Regions from separate parts of the Homo sapiens genome. Here all the other regions are linked to region 4. Evidence: promoter capture Hi-C in 16 types of primary human blood cells and fetal thymus (Javierre and others, 2016). All regions are on one chromosome and are shown on one strand. Each heading gives the region's core, a stretch centred on a gene start or on the middle of the fragment in contact. The rest is flanking DNA. Distances are from core to core; before and after follow the strand shown.

Region 1 (4,922 bases), core at 250-2,749, 1.8 Mb before region 4:
AACTCTTCTTGTTCCAGGGCCAGATTTTAAACATTTCTCCTAAAGCAACTTTCAACTGACCTGAACAATGTTTTAGTCCATCTGGATATCTGATCATAAAAGCACTTTGGGCTTAGAACTGTATGCTTATCTTTTACACATTCTGGGTTAGGTCACCTTCAGTGCACCTATAGGTTGTTGCCAGTATGTATTATAATCATTTTCTGGTTATTGGAATGATCATGGCTGATCTGTACAGCCAAAACTGAGCATAAGATGTTGCTTAGCAATGTATACCTAAAGGAGATACCTCATTTCAGGAATTATGTAGTATAGTGGACAGAAATCTTCTGGCTTAAAAAACTAATGTTGTATATGACCTTGAGCAACTTAAAGTCCTCTTCCAGAAAACAGTGAATTTTACATTTCTTCTCTCTCCAAACTTGGATCTTGGGTTATCCAGAATGGCTTCCCAATAGATTCAAATCAATGAGAAAATGCATTTTACTGTTTTTTTTATCAAGTTTATGCAAGATGAGAAGGTATATGGATTGTGCAATTTGTGCCCATAACTATGTTCTTTTAACACAGGAAAATTAAGGAAGTTTTTCAAAGAACCCTATTCCGAGTAAGAAGTGTGTTGCATGAATTTCTAAGGTAGGTTTTGCCCAGATCACCTTTATAATTTTGATGGTCTTCATTTTCCTTTCTGTCTACACTTGGACATTGGAAAAAAAAATTGAGCAAGCTAGCTTTGTAAAAGTGAAGTCTTCTGAATTAGGCACCTCAGGAATCAAGGGCTTGTAACGCTTTCTGAAACAAGATTTGCTGCAAAGTTCCTTGGATGGAGACACTGAACACTGTTGAGTATTCACCCTGTGGTAGATTTTTGTCCCCGGGCACTAATAACAGTGTGACCTTGGGCAAATTGTGTAAACCTTCCAAATTTAGGTTTCCTCATCTGCAAAGTGGGTTGTTGGGAAGATTAAATAGGGGAATCAGGTAAAAGTACAGAGAGGGCCTGACACATAGGAAGTGCTCAAAAGATGCTTGTTGCTGTTGGCTTGATGATGTGTCCCTTCTTTTCCAAGTACTTACTTTCCTCCTATCTGAAGGCAAAGGCTACACAGCAATTGGTCTGGACTGTTCCTCACCAAATAATTAAGGATCCTGAGCTGTGGCAGGTGCCCCTGTAACCCAGCAATGGAGACCCTGAGTTATTTTTGTTTCAAGCCAAACTCAATGTTATTGGATACTCTTTTTCTAAACAAAAGTAACATAGAATAAGCCCTTAATAGTATTTCAAACCTTCTTTTAAAATTCAATAATGACTTTCTAGGTATCATTTTAACAACTTTATAAAAATGAATCAGATCCTTGAGTTGAAGAAAAATAACTCCTTACATTATATACCTATACGTAGCAAAATTGGAAATTTATGTAGTAGATCATGTACCAGGTAGTATTTTAATATTCTAGATTTTCACTTCAGAGAGAATTATGATAAATTTAAAAACAAAAATATAACGTCCTGTGAATCTTACAACAAACATTCTGCTAACCAGTGTATCCATACTCTCCTTCCCTTTCCTCTCCCTCTCCTCCTTTCCCCTCCCCTTTTCCCCTTTCCCCTCCCTTCCCTTCCCCTTCCCCTTCCCCTTCTTCTCCTTCTCCTCCTTCTTCTCCTTCTCCTTCTCCTCCTTTTCCTTCCTTCCTTCCTTCCTTCCTTCCAACAGAAATGTATTTCTCACAAGTCTGGAGATGGGAAGTCAAAGACCAAAGTACCAGCAGAATGGTTGTCTAGTGAGGGCCCTCTTCCTCCTAGATGACAGTCTTTGCACTGTGTCCTCAAGGGTAGAAGGAATGAGCCAGCTCTCTGGGGTCTCTTTTATAAAAGTGCTAATCCCAGTCAAGAGGGCTCTGCCAGGGGCCCTGCCTCCCAATATTATCACCTTGGTGCTAACCAATATTTTCTAACTTCCATTTGCTACTCTAATGTTAACTCTGTTATCTCAATTTTAATAATAATAATAGCTGACATTTGCTGATGACATGCCTTACACTGCATTCATTAACATCTCAATCTCATTTAATTTGAAAGAGATAAAGCAACAGCCAATACACACATTACCACTTTTTTTCCTATCCTGTTACAAAGGAGATGAGGTTGTGGGAGAACTCTCTTTAGGCATTGTTCACATCAGGACACTTGAGAAACAGATCCTTCATATCCTTTGGACAACTCTTGTACTTCAGTTGGCTTTAAGCATTATCAGAGCATCCTTGACATGATGCCAGGTCCTAACACCGCTTCAGTGAAAGCTCAGAGACAAGCAAAAGATAATTGATCTATTTTGTGCCGCATGACATACTCGATGAGCAGCAACATATACTGTGGTGTTTGGCCTCCATAAACTGCAGAGAAATTGAAATATAGTAATAAACTTTATGCACGGACAAAGGGTGACCTAGGATATCACTGAACTCTTCTGCCTTCATAACCAAATGTCAAAATGCTAATAGTCTGTTCCTTGTGGAAAAATGTTGAGTTTTCATTCGGGAGATCAGGACTTACACACTAACTCAACCTACAGTAGACACTTGCTAGAGAATAAAACACAATAATGCACGTAGAATCGTTCTGTAAACTGTAAAGAATTTTACAAATATGAAATTTTATTATGGTTTTAGTCTTGTATCTATTAAATGTATACCTATTAGCATGCACACTTTTTTCTTCTAGCATCAAAGGTTGCTTAAAATAACAGTGGAACATTTAAAAGCAAGAGAATTCTAATTTACCATCATTCAAATTATGTTAAATCCAACTCAACTTTATAAGCTAAGGAACATGTGAAGGATAAATAAAAATTTGATAGTTAAGAAGATAAATATATGCAGATAAATTATGTGATGAGTCAAATTGATTATTACAGGACAATATACTGTATTAATAAAACAGACTAAATTTAAATGTATTGTGCAATGGCAAACCTAGTGCCTTCTTGGAAAAACATGCCTTAACAAGCTCATGTGGTTGCAAGGTTGATAATATCTTGATAATAACTTATGTTGTTCTTATTCCTAGTAATTGCTGGCCTCCTTATGACCTTCCGCCTAGTTTCAGGCAGTAGCTAGGAGAGCTAGACTAACTGCTCCAGAGAAGTGAGGCCAAGGCATGCAACAGAGTCACTTCTCCGCTTTTCCATTTCAAAGTAGACAATAGGGGAAGATATAACAAAAGCCAAAATTTATGCAGTAAAGAAAAAATTGGGGAAGAATGCAATTAATGAAAGACCTACACTATACAAGGATTTCACTGGACGAAGTGAAGAATAGGGAGCTTGTAAAGAAGATCAAGATAGTTGGACAGGTGGAATGTCTCCAAGACCTTTCCACTCGCCTCCCCACTTGTTGAGCATGGGAGCTGGGCAAATGGATGATAGACCATCCAGATAAATTTTGGCATCTAAAAGTAATTGTCACTTGCATCTTGTTTCTCAAGAAGGACCTTGAAAGTAAGCAAACTCCTAGAGCTCCCTAATCCCATGCACCACATTGGCTTGGAGCAGCAACAGTAGCAGTAGAATAGCAGAGCAGGGGGACTCAAGGCCAAGACGGTCTTGTTACAGGCAACTCCCTGAGCCTCCTTCCATCCGAGAGGTACCTGAGAACCTCTAAAAATTTCATTTCCCCCTGAAAGGTGAGAAAGTGACTGAGAGAGGGCTGATAAACTAGGGTCCTCCAGGTCGGGATTGGGAAAATTCAGAATATACATGGATAAAGAACCAGGGACTGGCCATGATAGGACCTACACCTATTACTTCATATGACTTGCTAATAGGAGTCAATGCTGACAGCCATAGACCTTCCTGGGCTTCTCCCTGGGGCCTCAATTTCAGTCCAGCGTTAAGAACTTAGTTTTGGTCTCAGGGAGAAGGATAGGGAGATGGAAATTTTACCTGAGTTTAAAAACCTGAATTTATGCAGATATGACATTTTCTGGATACATTTTGACAAGAGTAGAACTAGGGGAATCAAAATAGAGATTATGTTGAGTAACAGGGAAATAGAGTTACAGTTCTTGCCTATCATCTGAGTATATGGACTGAAATACTGTACCTGCTACATACATTGTAAGCAAAGTGAGGTCATGGCCAGAGCCCAAGGGTTTGAGGAGCCTTCTATGACGTGATGAGATGGTCTTGGGTCCCCTATATGATTAGCTTGTGGTGGTACATTAGGACTAAATATTCCAAATGCATTAACATAAAGCTGAAGTGATGTCCTTAGTGAACTTGGTCTTAAAAATTAAGAGCATTTTGGTTGGGTGACCTACCAACAACATACAGGGAAGAGATACAGGATCTTGGTTGATTCTCACTGCAGTAGACATTGATTTTGTGGTGTAGCAGCTTGTAAAATTAATGCAAATTTGAGATGAACTAATAAAAATATAGTTCATGAAGGTGCCCCACTACTTGCCCTACCTCTCCTCTCCTGTTACAATAGATCACCCATCTTTGTTCCCATCTGAGGACTCAGGTAATGGACTTCATCTCTTCTTGTCTTCTCAAGGATTTTGCATCTGCCATTATCCTTTCTCCCTCCTGTATCCTCAGTTGTTTTCTTCTCTACTGGATCAATGTCATCAACATACAAATATTATCTAGTATTTCTCATATTAAAAAAAAAACTTAACTTGCACATACACCCCTGTACCTCCTCCAGCTACCTTTCTGTTTCTTTTTAGAGCAAAACTTATTGAATGAAAAACTTGTTCATATTTACTTTCTCTTTCTGCTCTTTTTCTCTCGAACATACATCAATCAGATTTTTGTCGTCACCCCTCTACGGCTACACATTGTCACAGTCCATATCTTATTTGGCCAATTAGCAGCACCTCACACAGTTTGTTGCTTATTTTTTTATGGATTAGGTAA
Region 2 (5,002 bases), core at 1,002-3,501, 1.6 Mb before region 4:
CAAAACAAAATAAACGCAAGTATCTAAGTGGCCGATGCCTCAGAGAACAGTAAAAGCATTCTGAGTCCATCTCCCTCCCTGTTAAGTCCCAAGAATACATGCACATTCTGACCAGGGCAGAGACACACAGAGGCATGTGCACACACACAGGCTGTAGCAAGAGCATTTCAGAGAAAACCTACATTCCACATATCTATGGGAATTCCAGAAGGACACTCTTCATAGGCATTTACATTTGACTCTGTTTCAGTTTTTGGTTCATCTGTTGAGAAATCTATGATTTCTGTTTTTCTGATGCTCTCATCCTCTTTATCTTCCTGTAAGTTAAGTCCAGAGTTCTCCAACGTAGCTTCATCTTCCGAGTTTGACTCAGCGTCACTTTCATTTAGGCCAGGAGGTAGCAGCCCACTCCACATCTTTTCTTCTATGAGGAAAAAGATTAATTTACACATGTAGAATAACCATAGAAATAATTTTAAGACCATTAGAAGACATTCCAGGTGCCTAATAATTATAACAATGGTTTGGGAACAGTCCATCTAAACTTTTTTTTTTTAATCTAAAATGGCATAGAATGAACCTGTTATAAAATAATTAAAATCTTCACTTGTGTAAGTAAAAAAAAAGTTTAGAAGTTTAAAAGCTGTTTAAACAAGTTTGTTACAACATACACCTACAGGTAAAGAAAATAGAGCCTTGATTCTCTAATATATGAGTAGTTTTGTCTAAAAAAAACATGAAATTCAGTAAAGCATTGCTCAAGAATGTTAAAAACCTAACAACATACTTTGCAAGCAATTTAGGATTAAAATACCATATTTGAAGCTATACCAATTAGAGAATAAAACTGCATGTTTCACCTATATTTAATGGACAAAGCTTTCAGAGGGCGTCTTGTCTAAGGAGCAGGAAAATAACTAAAGGAAAATTTTTAAGCTACATAAGTAGTTGGAGGAAGGTATCGTAGTAAAAAGGATATCCTACTTTTTAGTTTAATACTGTTTGCTAAAATAATATTAAATGAAATATAATCCTAACAATTTAACAAAAATGTACAGCTTTTTAAAGTAACAATACTATATTTGGGAAACTAATGGTCAAGTTCAAGATAATATTTAGCATTAGCTATACAGTCCATTAGTAGAGAGAACCATTAAGTTTAATAAAATGACTTAAAATAGCAGAATTGTTATCATTTGCTAAAAGTATAATACTCAAGTACATACTCACTATTGATCTTCATGGCACAGTCTATTTTAGCACATATATTGAGCCAAAACCAGTTCCTTCAAAAGATGCTTAAAATAGAGAAGCCGGTTGTACTGCTCATGATTTACTATCAATATGAAGGAATAAAATGGAAGGACGGAAATTTGTTTTGCAGTTTTCTGTCCCATATTGTGATTAACCTAGTTAAAAAACAAACAAACAAACAAAAGAAACCACCATTCTCTCTGAGACAAACACATCAGGGATTTTGTGATAACAGATTTCTCTTATCTTTTAAAGACCTCCTTCCAGGTCCAAAGAATCAGATCTTACTTTTTGTGGCTTTGGTCCAGCCTCATCAGTTGCTGGCTCTCTGAAATATCCTCACCAAATATTCTGTTGGCTTTTTATGAGGAAGGACTCTGGCATCTAACTGCTCCAACTAGAATCTTAACTCTGACACTACTAGTAGTATGAGGAAATCATTTGACATCTCTGACCCTCAATTTCTTTATCTGTAATGCAGGGATAATTATACTGCTTATAGGGCTATTCTGAGGATTAAATGAGATAAGCCCCTCAACACAGTGTTTAGGAGGTCCTAGGGGCTCAATAAATGTTAAGTTCTCTTTGCTATTATTATTTCTGTGGCCATGTATTACATTTTTATCATTTCTATTATGAGTGACAGGGTTCATAAGATAGTTTTGAAGTTTCTAATAATTGTGGTGCACTCACTTAGCAACTGATGCAATCATTTGCTTCCTTGATAGTCACAATCTGATGTGAAGTGTCTATAACAAATGTTAGTGTTTGGTTTTCTGAATGGAGGAATAAAATGAGGGCAAATTACTAGGAAGATAATGGTAACCTTAAGCTCCAAGATTCCTCATCTGCACAGGTCCTTCCAAAGCACTGTACCTAGTTTTCTATTCAGAATTTACATTTCTTTGTTTAAAGGAAGAAACCCGAAGTTATATAAGCTCCAGGCCCCATAAAACCCAGATCTATCCCTAAACCTGTCTGTGGATTTTTAAAGTTGGGACAGCAGTACTCTTGAAATACTCCAATAGCACAAAAGACATCATGTAAAATATGCCAATATTGAAAAACAGGTGTCATGCTATTAATAAAAAAGATTTCTCCTGTTCTGAGAGCAAGGGGAAGGAAGCAGTAATAAGTTCCAGTATGACTTGGCCACCGCCATATAATATACCTTTAGGCTCATTATCATTTAAGGACTTAAAACAGTAACAAATTTCAGGTTTGGATTTCTTAGCATCACTGGAGTCTATGTTAGAAATAACTCTTTCCCTTCCTGTCCATAAAATATTTTACATGCCCACTTATGTGCCAGACACTCTTCAAGACCCTGGGGACAGAAGTATATAAAACAGGCAAAAATCCCTAGCCTCACGAAATGACAGCTATACACATAGCAAGTTTCTGCTCAGTTTTTGAGCCAAGTATTCCTTGACCTGGACTTTAGATGTGACTGCTCATGAAACGTGTATGCCTCTCCAATGGGCAGTGGCACAGGTCTCCTACTAAACCACTGTTTTAGCATCTCTGCAGGGTGATAGTCTATGCTCTGGGCACCCAAACATGCTTCCCTCTGGGAAGCAGTCTCAGTTGCCCCGAAGAAGGCATGCTTTTTGCTGTTGTTGTTGCTAATCAGCCTTCAAGTAGTTAGGCATTTTTTATGGCTTTTTAAATTTTCTCAAAATTATATATTTTTAGCTCCTGCTCATGTGGCATTAAAAACTGTCCTCAGTGTGGCATCTGCCTGGTATGATAATTTCTTGAGTGTACCCAAAGGAAAAAAAATTAAAATAGTTTGAAAAAGGTGGAATCCACCTCTAAATCCAGGCAAAATTCAAATCAGGTAGGTTTTGAATTCCACTCTTTAGAACCTTTAGTCATGTGCCATTTTCCTGTGACTCTCAAAAAAACAAATACAAGGGAGACTGAGCAGTCACTGATAAACACGGATAACTGCTGCCACTTACTGTGCAGCCTGCAAAATGGAGTTGCCCGTGTAAGCAGCAGCCCAGTTACAGATCAGCCAATATGGAGTGGCTGCTTAGTGACTTTTGCTTTGGACTCATGTTTCAAAACAGTCTTTCTATTCATAGCATATACTTGTCATTCACAAAGTTTCCAACTGGCACCATGTTAGGCCTCCTGTTATTCTTGTTTTGGCTGCTGTGGAGAATGATTCTCTATAAGTGTCTCTTACTTATGCCTTTCAGAGCGTATTTCTTTATTTTAAGGCAGATAATCCCAAGTTACCCTTTAACTGTGAAAATTCACTCAGCCTGTCTCCAGAAACGTGGAATATCAGAGAAACAGAAACTTAAATTTGTTTAGCATAGATTATAGCCAAGTCCATATAACAGCCAATGTATTAATTCATAAGCTTTCATTTTTTTTACCCTGCAACCCAAATAATTTTCAATTTAATCATTTTAGCCCCAAGGAAAATGTAAATGACTCAGAATCCTTTTTCTCTCTATGGTTTTGAATATCACTTTCTTCATTTTACACACCCTCCACCTCTAGAGTTAAGATTTATTCCATCCCACAATTATCCTCAAGACATTCTGTGTGTACTATGCAGAACACATCTTTAGTCCTGGGCTAACACAATTTGCCATGAACTGAAAATATTTATATACTGTCCTAGTCTGAATAACTAGGGTTTCTTGTTTGTTTGTTTGTTTGCCCTTGAAAACCACCCATCGTTATTATTTAGCATACTTGGTCAGATAACAATGAATCAAAAACAGGGTACAGTTCAGTGGTTCCTAATCTAAGTATGAATATAGTAACAGGAGTCTCTAAGCTAATTTCAAAAAGCCCAAACTATTTTATTTTTCCCCTCAGTAAGACTGTACCATTCATCATTACAGGAAAAGACCAATTTAGTGAAGCACTATTTTTCACATGTTAATCAGAGGTTCACTGGTAGTTATAGGTCTGATTTTTATCAGAAAAAAACATTCATAAATAAGGTTGAGTAGACACAATCTTTCAAAATAAAGCAGCCAGGGAGAAATCAAATTATAATAAAAACCGTTCTAGATTGTGCACTGGTTACAGGGGGAAAAAGTCTTCAAAGTTGGAAAATGGTTTCTAGTCCTGAGCAACATAATTAGGAGAAAGCCACTGCATTTGTCTGGGCCTCCATTCTTAAGCTATAAAATAAAGGTTTGATCAAATGATCTCTGAGATGTCTTACAGCTCTAAAATGCCTCTTTATGATTTTGATATTATAAGTGCCCTAAATGCCCAGAGTCACCTCACTCCTGGATGTATCACTCCATTCTCTCTAGCACTGCAATCCTGATTAGAGCCCAGTATCCAGTAGATAAGGTTTCTCTCCTCTACCTAGCAACTCAGCCAAGAGGATGTTTTCAGAGAAACTCTGTACACTTCAGGACACTGAGAAGGGGAAGGAACCCTAGTTACAACAGGAAACACTAGAACCAGAAAGGGGAAACAAAGCAAGTCACTGCTGCACATGGCATACAAACAGTGTGGCAGGCCTTGGTTTTCCACTAATCTTCACAACAACCCTTCCACTAGGAATTACTATCTATATCAGCCCCTCCCCTACCCGCCCCGCCCCCAATTTACAGATGGGATAACTGACTTGCCTAATGCATTCTGATCCATTTGTTTTACAAAAATAGCCCCATGGCTTTAGATTATGAATTTTACAGAGCAGAGTTGTAAGCGGGGACAAGGATTTGCGACTGGGGCTGAGAATGATCTTAGCCTATAATTACAG
Region 3 (4,852 bases), core at 522-3,021, 1.2 Mb before region 4:
CTAACTCACGGAAGTGTTTGCAATACAACCTCTTTGTACATCAGCTGTGTGGAACAACATACTTGTCACTTCCTCCTTTCACTGTGCTGATCTCATATCCCACCCCACTTCCTAATTTGCTGCTTCCATTAACAGGAGCTGAGAAACAAAATAACCAAAGAGAGTTAGAATTGTGTGTCAATAAACACCAACAGATTAAGGTCTCCCTCTGAGACTAAAAATATGATTTTTACACCAGATACTTCAGTCATTCTTGCTTTTATTGCTGACTTCCACAGTGTCTGCATTATGTATGGTGGAGGTGGCAGGCTTCCTCTGTCATGATCTGAAAACCACTTTTGAATCAAAAAGTATAAACCAAACCCTCCAATCCGTAAGTGTGGAATACATAAAACACTTACAGAGCCTCATCTTATGCATTCTACATTACATGTTTGTGTGAGGCATAATTCAAGTGCCTTGAACCTTAGTATACCCTTTCAAACCCAAGCAAATTAAATCTTAACTTACCTGTATATCTGTTCATAGGATATGGGGATATAGTCACCAGGACTCTGAGTTAAAAGTTGATCTATGGCACCATCCAATTTTGGCCAGTATGTGCTCTTATAATCTTCAATAGTTATAACATTCATTACTAAAAGTAAAAAGTAAAATAAATATTACTACGTGCCACATGTGGAGCAAACACAAATCACAGCCATTTTGCACTCTCAAATTCCTCTCACTTACTCTTCTGATTTTACACTGACACTCTATCACCTAACTATCCTATTTCAATTAAAAACAAAAAAGGCAACCTGGTCAAGGATGTTAAGCAGCCATTAATCATGGATTTAAGAGAAGTTAGTATGAACCTGTCCATCTTTAAAAATAACAACCAAACAAGCAATCATCACTGGCTTCCTTCTGGGTTTCCTGTAAGCTTCTGTCATTAGTGGAGCAGTCTCAAACATGCTCTGACCCTCAAATACACACTGCCAATTATGTGACAAAATGGCCTATCAATGAACCACAGGAAAATTTGGAGAAATCGTGAACACCAACAATCAATCTTTGTAGACATCCTCGAGGAAATGTGCCTAAGGACAGGACTATGAGGATTAAGGTCCAAATGCTGCAATCACAAAGAGGTTGCTGTAAAACTTGCCGAGATTTACAACAACACCAGCACCTCTTCATCATTACTACAGCTCCAACTCAGGCTGCTACTATCTTAAACTGGATAAGCCCAACAGAAAAGAAGTCAGTGAACTGGGACCCTGCGCTGAGGCTTACTTCATTCCTACAGACAGGCTCTTACTCCCACACTACAGGTTTCCACAAAGCATTTGTACAGTGGATCCTAACAGCTTTGAAATCCAGGTAACAGTTGCTTCACGGCACTGAAATGTTAATATTAAAAAAAGAGCTACCAGAAGAACCTGCCTATATTCTGTGTCATGAATCACAGTTACCTCAGGAGTAACAACAACGAGACCAGGTATTTCACTGTTTATTTTACCAGACTAGGAAGCAGAGTGGTTAAGTGACTTCCTCAAGAACTCAAGGCTCATTACTGTCAGAGATACCAGGTAAAGCAAAGCCTTCCCAGTATCTTTTTATCACATTATCGATTTCCACACCTTAGTCATCCAGGTTCAAGATTTTTTTCTATGTACCATCTATATCATTTTTGTTCAATACTTTCTTTAAATCAATCCACTTCTGTTATTTAATTTTATTTTACAGGACATCTGAGGAATGAACTACTGAGGAATGTTCACAAAACAACATGGCATAATCTTAAATCCATTTTGCTAAGTGAAAGAAGCCAGACCCAAAGGGCTACATATTCTAAGAGTCCCATTTACATGATACTAATAAAGGCAAAACTATAGGGAGGAAAACAGATCAGTGGTCGACAGGGGCTGGAAGGTGGGGAGAAGGATTATCTATAAAGCAGTAGCATGGAGGAATTTTTATGGCAATTAACTGTTTTGCATGAAACTATGGTGGGGGATACACCACTTCACGCATTTGTCAAGACCAAAAGAACTGTACATCAAATTACTATGTAAATTTAAAAAATCAACAAGGCTGTAGTGGTAAAGATGAAATGCAAAACACAAAAAATGAACCGAATTACAAATGAATCACATAACCCACACTGAATGGAATGGGGAATAAAGGAGTGTTTTGACTAATGTAAAGCTAAAGACAAAAAGAACCGTACATGCACGTGCGCAAACATAACAGTAGGAAGAGGCCAGACATGTAGGTCCTTATGGGCCATTGTAAAGACTTTGACTTTTACTCTAAGGTGGAAGCCTCTCTGGAGGGTTTTGAGCAGAGGAGTGACATGATCTGGCTTAGGTTTTATATGGATCATTCCAGCAGCTGTGCTGAGGGTAAACTAAGTTTGGAGGCTGTGAGCTGATATGGGGTTGGGCCAGATGGTGGCACTGAGGACAATAAGGAGAGATCAGATTTTGAAGATATTTTAAAAACAGAGTCAACAAGATTTGCTGATAGATTAGATGTGAGATGTGAAAGAAAGGTCGAGTGGCTCCAAAGTTTTTGGCTTCAGCACCGAAGGATGGGGTTGTCGTTTACTAAAATGAGGAAGACTGCACGAAAAGCTTAGCTGTCCAGCGGGCATAGCAGATACTGTTGGTGCCCCACCCATTTACCCCATCCACACCCTACGACTACTTCTCTCAATGTTCTGTCCAGCTGCCAGAGCTTGCTCTGCTTGCGGGAGGAGCAGGTAAGAAATTGTGGGAGAATTAACCCCAAAGCAGCCTTCAACCAATGACTACTGAGGATTCAGTGTCATTACCACCAGTAGCTCCCTCTCCTTTTGGGTGAGGCGACTCTAAGGCCCCTGTGCTATACTGACTCCCAGAGCTCCCCACTGGTACTAAGCTCCAGCTGCCTACAGTGGTGACTTTACCTTACTGGCTTCCTTACCTTCCCTGCCTCACTTCCCCAATCCCCCTAGAGCTGCTTCCCAGGGTCACCGTCTTGCTCTTGATACTGAAAAGTGTTACACACTAGGCTCTAGAATATGACCTTTGTATTTATGTAATCCTTAGGATTCAAAGAAAACTGAAAAAGAAATTACATTCTCACTGTGTGATTCTGAGTTACAGAATCCCTTATCAGTGTACCACCTAAACCACATGAAATACCTCTCTACACCGAAAGTTGAGAGTTGAAGGTTAGATAACACGCTCAAAAAGAAAACTGCAAGTAGTAACACCAGTAATTAACATACCTATCTTCTGGGCTCCTAAAATGCTTAGTTCAATAAACCACATGCTATGGCTCCAGCTGGGAGCACTCCTACTTCTCAAGCACAGGCTTCGCACTTTAGCAAATCACCAAGTCAAAGATATGAAGAAGAGGAAAAAGAAACCAAAATGTAAAGTCCTGCAGTTCTAAGTACAGAATGGGGACTCACTACAGAAACAGTGACTGCTGATGCTTTTAAATATCTTTGAAAAGAGACTTAAAAACCAAATTGAAAAAGGCATGTGTCACAGTAGAGAATCTTAAACCCTATTTCCACACACAAAAAAAAAAGCAGTTTCTATTTCCACACGTATTATTTATTATATACAATATACATCTATGTTACCTGAATAGTAAATAGAAAGCCAATTCAGTAACCTTATATGCTAGCTAACATAACTTTCTTCCCAGGAAGGTTCTTCATAACCATCTGCAGTCAACACTTAAAATGACAATCCAGGAAACTTCAAGATATTTGTTATTTACTTGCTTATCTCAACGCAATCCTTGGTTTAAAAAACAAAAACTCCTAGCTATTTGTTCAGTTTAACATCTGACACATATAGCCTCAGAGTGTGTGTGTAATCTTGAACTTAAAAACTAGATCCTCTTGTTAAGAGATATGTAATCACTTTCAACTTTGCCCATAGAAAAGCTTACACTCACCAAAAGAAAAAGTAGGCCAGGCGCACTGGCTCATGCCTGTAATCCCAGCACTTTGGGAGACCGAGGCGAGAGCACCGCCTGAGCCCAGAAGTTCAAGACTACACTGGGAAACATGGTAAGACCTTACCTCTACAAAAACTTAAAAAAAAAAATTAGCCGAGCGTGGTGATGCACACCTGTGGTCTCAGCTACTCGGGAGGCTGAGGCAGGAGGATCTTTCAAGCCCAAAGGTCAAGGTTGCAGTGAGCCATGTTCATAACCCTGTACTCCAGTCTGGACAACAAAGCAAGACTGTCTCAAAAACAAAACAAAACACAAAAGAGTAGCCAAAATTCATGCTATGTGTAGAAGATAGCTGATTTACTACTTTAAAATGAGAATGCTAAGATCAGAGCAGCATGACAGGATCTTAGGAGATCTGCAAGGCTGCCTATTTAGACAATACTTTTCAACTTTTTATTTCTTGATTTCTACAGTTCAGTATGAAGCCTGCATTAGAAAATACATAAGCAAAAGGAGGAAATAAAAATCACTCATAATTTCACCACCAGTATATTGCGGCTGTGCCAGTGTACTGTGCCAGTCTTTTCAATGTATATTATACGTGGCTAAAGAGTATATACAGACTTCCAATGAGGTAAAGAATTCCTTGAATTTTACTTTTTAGATAATTAACTAAATTCCTTTTCTGTATGTAATGAGCAATATCAGCAAGTAAGAGCCAAAATTAAAGTATGAAACCTAAACAAAAGTAAGTTACCATTAAATTACTAAACTTCATCTAGGTTAGATTTTCAGCTTGAAAATAATGAACTACTTTTTATGCTATTTAAAGAAGGCACTACAGGCACAAATACCTACAGGAGCCACGCTAATAACATACATAAGTAAAGCAGGCCTGGTGCAAGAA
Region 4 (4,535 bases), core at 1,780-4,279:
AGTTTGCAAGAAATAACAAAATCTATCCTTATTCTACAATTCCAAATAGACTCTTTGGCAGCAGTGACCCTCCAAAACCACCGAGGCCTAGACCTCCTCACTGCTGAGAAAGGAGGACTTTGCACCTTCTTAGGGGAAGAGTGTTGCTTTTACACTAACCAGTCAGGGATAGGATGAGGTGCCGCCTGGTGTTTACAGGAAAAGGCTTCTGAAATCAGACAACGCCTTTCAAACTCTTATATCAACCTCTGGAGTTGGGCGATATGGCATTTCCCCTTTCTAGGTCCTGTGATGGCCATCTTGCTATTATTCACCTTCGGGCCCTGTATTTTTAACCTCCTTGTCAAATTTGTTTCCTCTAGGATTGAGGCCATCAAGCTACAGATGGTCTTACAAATGGAACCCCAATGAGCTCAACTAACAACTTCTACTGAGGACCCCTGCACCAACCCGCTGGCCCTTTGACTGGCATAAAGAGTTCCCCTCTGGAGGACACTACAACTGCAGGGCTCCTTCTTCAACCCATCCAGCAGGAAGTAGCTACAGAGGTCATTGCCCAATTCCCAACAGCTCTTGGGGTGTCCTCTTTAGAGGGGGGATTGAGAGGTGAAGCCAGCTAGACTTCCTGGGTTGAGTAGGGACTTGGAGAACTTTTCTGTCTAGCTAGAGGATTGTAAATGCACCAATCAGTGCTCTGTGTCTAGCTGAAGGACTGTAAATGCACCAATCAGCACTCTGTAAAAACACACCAATCAGTGCTCTGTGTCTAGCTAGAAGATTGTAAATGCACCAATCAGCACTCTGTAAAAATGCACCAATCAACACTCTGTGTCTAGCTAAAGGATTGTAAATGCACCAATCAGCATTCTTTACAATGGACCAATCAGCGCTCTGTAAAATGGACCAAGCAGCAGGATGAGGGCAGTGACAAATAAATAAATAAAAGCTGGCCACCCGAGCCAGCAGCAGCAACCCAGTCAGGTCCCCTTCCACGCTACGGAAGCTTTGTTCTTTCGCTCTTCACAATAAATCTTGCTGCTGCTCACTCTGGGTCTGTGCCACCTTGAAGAGCTGTAACACTCACCACAAAGGTCCGCGGCTTCATTCTTGAAGTCAGTGAGGCCAAGAACCCACCGGAAGGAACCAACTCCGGACACATGACCACTGAGAACTGTCTTCTCAAGGACCTGGGGGTTTGTCTCTTGAATTGCAAGCCTTCAAGGAGGTGGTTCTCATTCTCATTCCCAGTCCCTGTGGCTACCTTGCTCTCTTACACCACTGCTTGTCATGAAGACAGAAAAATTATGTCTCCTCTGGATAAGCATGGATTAACACACCCAGATGGCCTAGTTGCAGGACGAACCAACCCTTCACACTCCTCAGCACCTTTCCCTTAGCACACCACAGCCTCTAAAAAGCCTCCAAATTTTTGTTTCAGCAAAGTTGTGTTCAGTTCATGCTGGACCCAATTCCCTAGCAATAGTTTTCATTAAATAAAATCTAATTTACTGCTTTAACGAGTGTCCCACTTAAAAAATTTTTCTTGACAGTAAGCACATGAAATCGTTATTGAATTAATAAACTTAGGTTCTATATATGTGTAAACAGCTGAGCAGAGTTTCATTATTTTGAGCGTTCTTTTGGTATCTCCTCTCCCAACCTCCAAGAAGCTGAAATATGGCTTAAGTTATATTTTCCTTCAAAATCTCTAACTATGAAAGATGACAATTATGTCCAAGTTATCCACAGTACCTCCTGGATTGAAGTAAGTCAGCTTACTGTGGATATAGAAAGCTATCTAAAATGTCAGATCTCTAATTTCAATGCCCTGGTTTCTTTTTTTTTCTTTTTTTTTTTTTTAAGGAGACAGGGTCTCGCTGCACAGTGAGTGGCAAGATCAGGGTTAATTTGGCCTCAAGCAATATTCCCGCCTCAGCCTCCTGAGTAGCTGGCAATATAGGTGCTATGCCACCAAGCCCGGCTAATTTTTGTATTTTTAGTAGAGACGGGGTTTCACCATGTTGGCCAGGTTGGTCTCAACCTTCTGGGCTCAAGCTATCCTCCCGCTCTGCCTCACAAAGTGCTGGGATTGCAGGCCTGCGCCATGGCGTCTGGTTTGATTTCTCTTTTAAATATTTTTTTTGGCCAGGCGTGGTGGTTCATGCCTATAATCCCAGCAGTTTGGGAGGCCAAGGCGGGCAGATCACGAGGTCAGGAGATTGAGACCATCCTGGCCAACCCGGTGAAACCTCGTCTTTACTAAAAATACAAAAAATTAGCCAGGCGTGGTGGCGGACGCCTGTAGTCCCAGCTACTCGGAGGCTGAGGCAGGAGAATCGCTTGAACCCGGGAGGCGGAGATTGCAATGAGCCCAGACTGCACCGCTGCACTCCAGCCTGGGCGACACAGCAGACTTGTCTCAAAACAAAAAACAAAACCAACCAAAAAAACAAAAAACAAATGCAAAACAAAAAACAACAAAAATAAAACGAAATATTTTTTTCTCCCTATGGATTAAACACTTAAAAAATGTTTTACCACTTCTATTTCTGGGTCAACCACAATGTTCGGTTCCATCCAGAAAGACAAGTGGGTTTTGGAGAGGGTGTTTGGTTCCGCCTAGCATGCGAATTCCCATTCCCGCACAACGCTCTTCCTCCCTTCCTCCTTCCGGTAGCGTCCAGCAGGATTCCGCTGTTCCTCCAAAATCTTTGTCAGGAGAGCCATCCTGACGGTACCTTTAGGAAGCCCATAGATACCCGCCACAACCTGTGACTTTCAGGGTCAATTGCGTCTCAATTCGCACGTCTATCCAGAACCTGCGGGGACCACGTCCCCATCCTCCCGCCCGGCCTCCGCCTCCGAGGGTGTCACGTGCTAGACGCGGGCGTGAAGACAGTGTCGCCATGTTGATATCTGGCGTCGCCGTGTAGGGGAAGGGAGAGGGCGGCTGACTAGCTACCCGTAATTTCGGCTCCTGTGCGCAAGTGCGGAAGTGCGCTGGCCAGGAGCGTGATCGGTTTCCGGTCAGTGGTGTGGTACCGGGTACCCGGAGACGTGTATCGGACGGTGGGCCGCAGCCATGGCCGAGAGAAAACCTAACGGTGGCAGCGGCGGCGCCTCCACTTCCTCATCGGGCACTAACTTACTTTTCTCCTCCTCGGCCACGGAGTTCAGCTTCAATGTGCCCTTCATCCCAGTCACCCAGGCCTCCGCTTCTCCGGCCTCCCTGCTCTTACCGGGAGGTAATAAGGGGAGGGCGGCCCCGTGTGTGGTGGGAGGCGGGCGGGGGACGTGCAATGACAAAGGTCAGACGGGAGTTTTTCCTTCTGCCTCGAGCTACCCTCTGGATAGCTTGCCAGGATCATTACTGGCCAGGTTTGAGTGGGTCGGGGGCTTTGGGATCTTGGAGGTGGCAGGTGATGAGACTTGCTCTTCACGGAAACCCCCTGTTCCGAGTTGTCCAGAGTGCTGGACATTCATTCGTACCCTGGCATTCCGCAAATCTTTGCTGAATACCCGTTGTTGGTACGCCAGGTGCTGGCAGGAAATGCAAATAAATTAAACAGTGGCCCTCTCCTAGGGTACAGTAGTCTGTCTCCCACTAGGAGACTCCTAGGATACGGTAAGATACCTCCTAGGATGGACTGTGCCCCTCTCCTAGGATACGGTACACTGTCTCCTACTAGGAGATTGTTGTGATACAGTACAATATCTTCTAGGTTACAGTAAGATATCTTATAAGATGGACTGTGCCCCTCTTCTAGAAGCCTGTAATATTTGTGAAGTAGACATATACAATGCATTCCTTATCTTTTTTTTTTTTTTTTTTTTTTTGAGACGGAGTCTTGCTCTGTCGCCCAGGCTGGAATGCAGTGGCGCGATCTCGGCTCACTGCAGCCTCCACCTTCCAGGTTCAAGTGATTCTCCTGCCTCAGCCTCCCGAGTAGCTGGGACTACAGGCGTCTGCCACCATGCCTGGCTAATTTTTGTATTTGTAGTAGAGACAGGGTTCCACCATGTTGGCCAGGATGGTCTCAATCTCCTGACCTCAAGTGATCCGCCTGCCCTGGCCTCCCAAAGTGCTGGGATTACAGGTTTAACCCCCCACCCATTCCTCATCTTTCAAGACAATACATCACTTCTTCCAAGAAGCTGTTTCTTGTTCTCTTAGGCCCCCACTCCTATGTGCACTCCTAGCTCTTTTTTCATATTTGTATTATTGTCCAGGGAGATTGCTTTTTGATGATTATGTAGCATTGCCCAGAGCATAGTGTTTAAGAGCACAGACTGTCTGTATTCCAGTCCTTGCCCTGCCAGTAACTTGCTGTGTGACTGTAGGCATTTTACTTTACCTCTCTGTGCTTCAGTTTCTATGTATGTGTAGCCTCACAGAATTGTAATTAGAAATGCTTTAATTTTTGCAAAGCGCTAAGTATAGTGCGTGCCAGACAGTGTGATTTAATGTTTGTGAAATAAACACACCTGCCTCTCCATTTGGACTGCAGTCTTCTTCAGCAGCTATGACCTAATTG

Evidence for each region. The method cuts DNA at HindIII sites, captures the fragments that hold promoters and counts their contacts. A CHiCAGO score of 5 or more calls a contact.
Region 1: a contact is called between a fragment that was not itself captured here and the fragment with the promoter of SEC23IP in region 4, in 1 of 17 cell types (neutrophils). The highest score is 5.7, in neutrophils.
Region 2: a contact is called between a fragment that was not itself captured here and the fragment with the promoter of SEC23IP in region 4, in 1 of 17 cell types (naive CD8 T cells). The highest score is 5.1, in naive CD8 T cells.
Region 3: a fragment that was not itself captured here is called in contact with the fragment with the promoter of SEC23IP in region 4 in 1 of 17 cell types (total B cells); the score reaches 8.2 in total B cells.

The regions. Positions count from the first base shown.
Region 1 is chr10:118,051,561-118,056,482 of GRCh38, forward strand. CASC2 (cancer susceptibility 2) reads left to right here. Exons shown (of 4, transcript NR_026940.1): 3 at 571-636. Among named protein-coding and RNA genes, the nearest start is that of RAB11FIP2, 7.1 kb to the left of the region's middle. The HindIII fragment of the contact is 9,287 bases long and covers 1-4,922 here.
Region 2 is chr10:118,336,000-118,341,001 of GRCh38, forward strand. It overlaps FAM204A (family with sequence similarity 204 member A), which reads right to left. Exons shown (of 9, transcript NM_022063.3): 3 at 183-424. The coding sequence starts at 416. Among named protein-coding and RNA genes, the nearest start is that of FAM204A, 3.8 kb to the right of the region's middle. The HindIII fragment of the contact is 2,749 bases long and covers 878-3,626 here.
Region 3 is chr10:118,729,774-118,734,625 of GRCh38, forward strand. CACUL1 (CDK2 associated cullin domain 1) reads right to left here. Exons shown (of 9, transcript NM_153810.5): 2 at 511-637. Among named protein-coding and RNA genes, the nearest start is that of CACUL1, 23 kb to the right of the region's middle. The HindIII fragment of the contact is 1,696 bases long and covers 924-2,619 here.
Region 4 is chr10:119,889,701-119,894,235 of GRCh38, forward strand. It overlaps SEC23IP (SEC23 interacting protein), which reads left to right and starts at 3,030. Exons shown (of 19, transcript NM_007190.4): 1 at 3,030-3,245. The coding sequence starts at 3,083. RefSeq lists enhancers at 1,745-2,256, 2,257-2,767, 2,768-3,278. The HindIII fragment of the contact is 6,362 bases long and covers 1,002-4,535 here.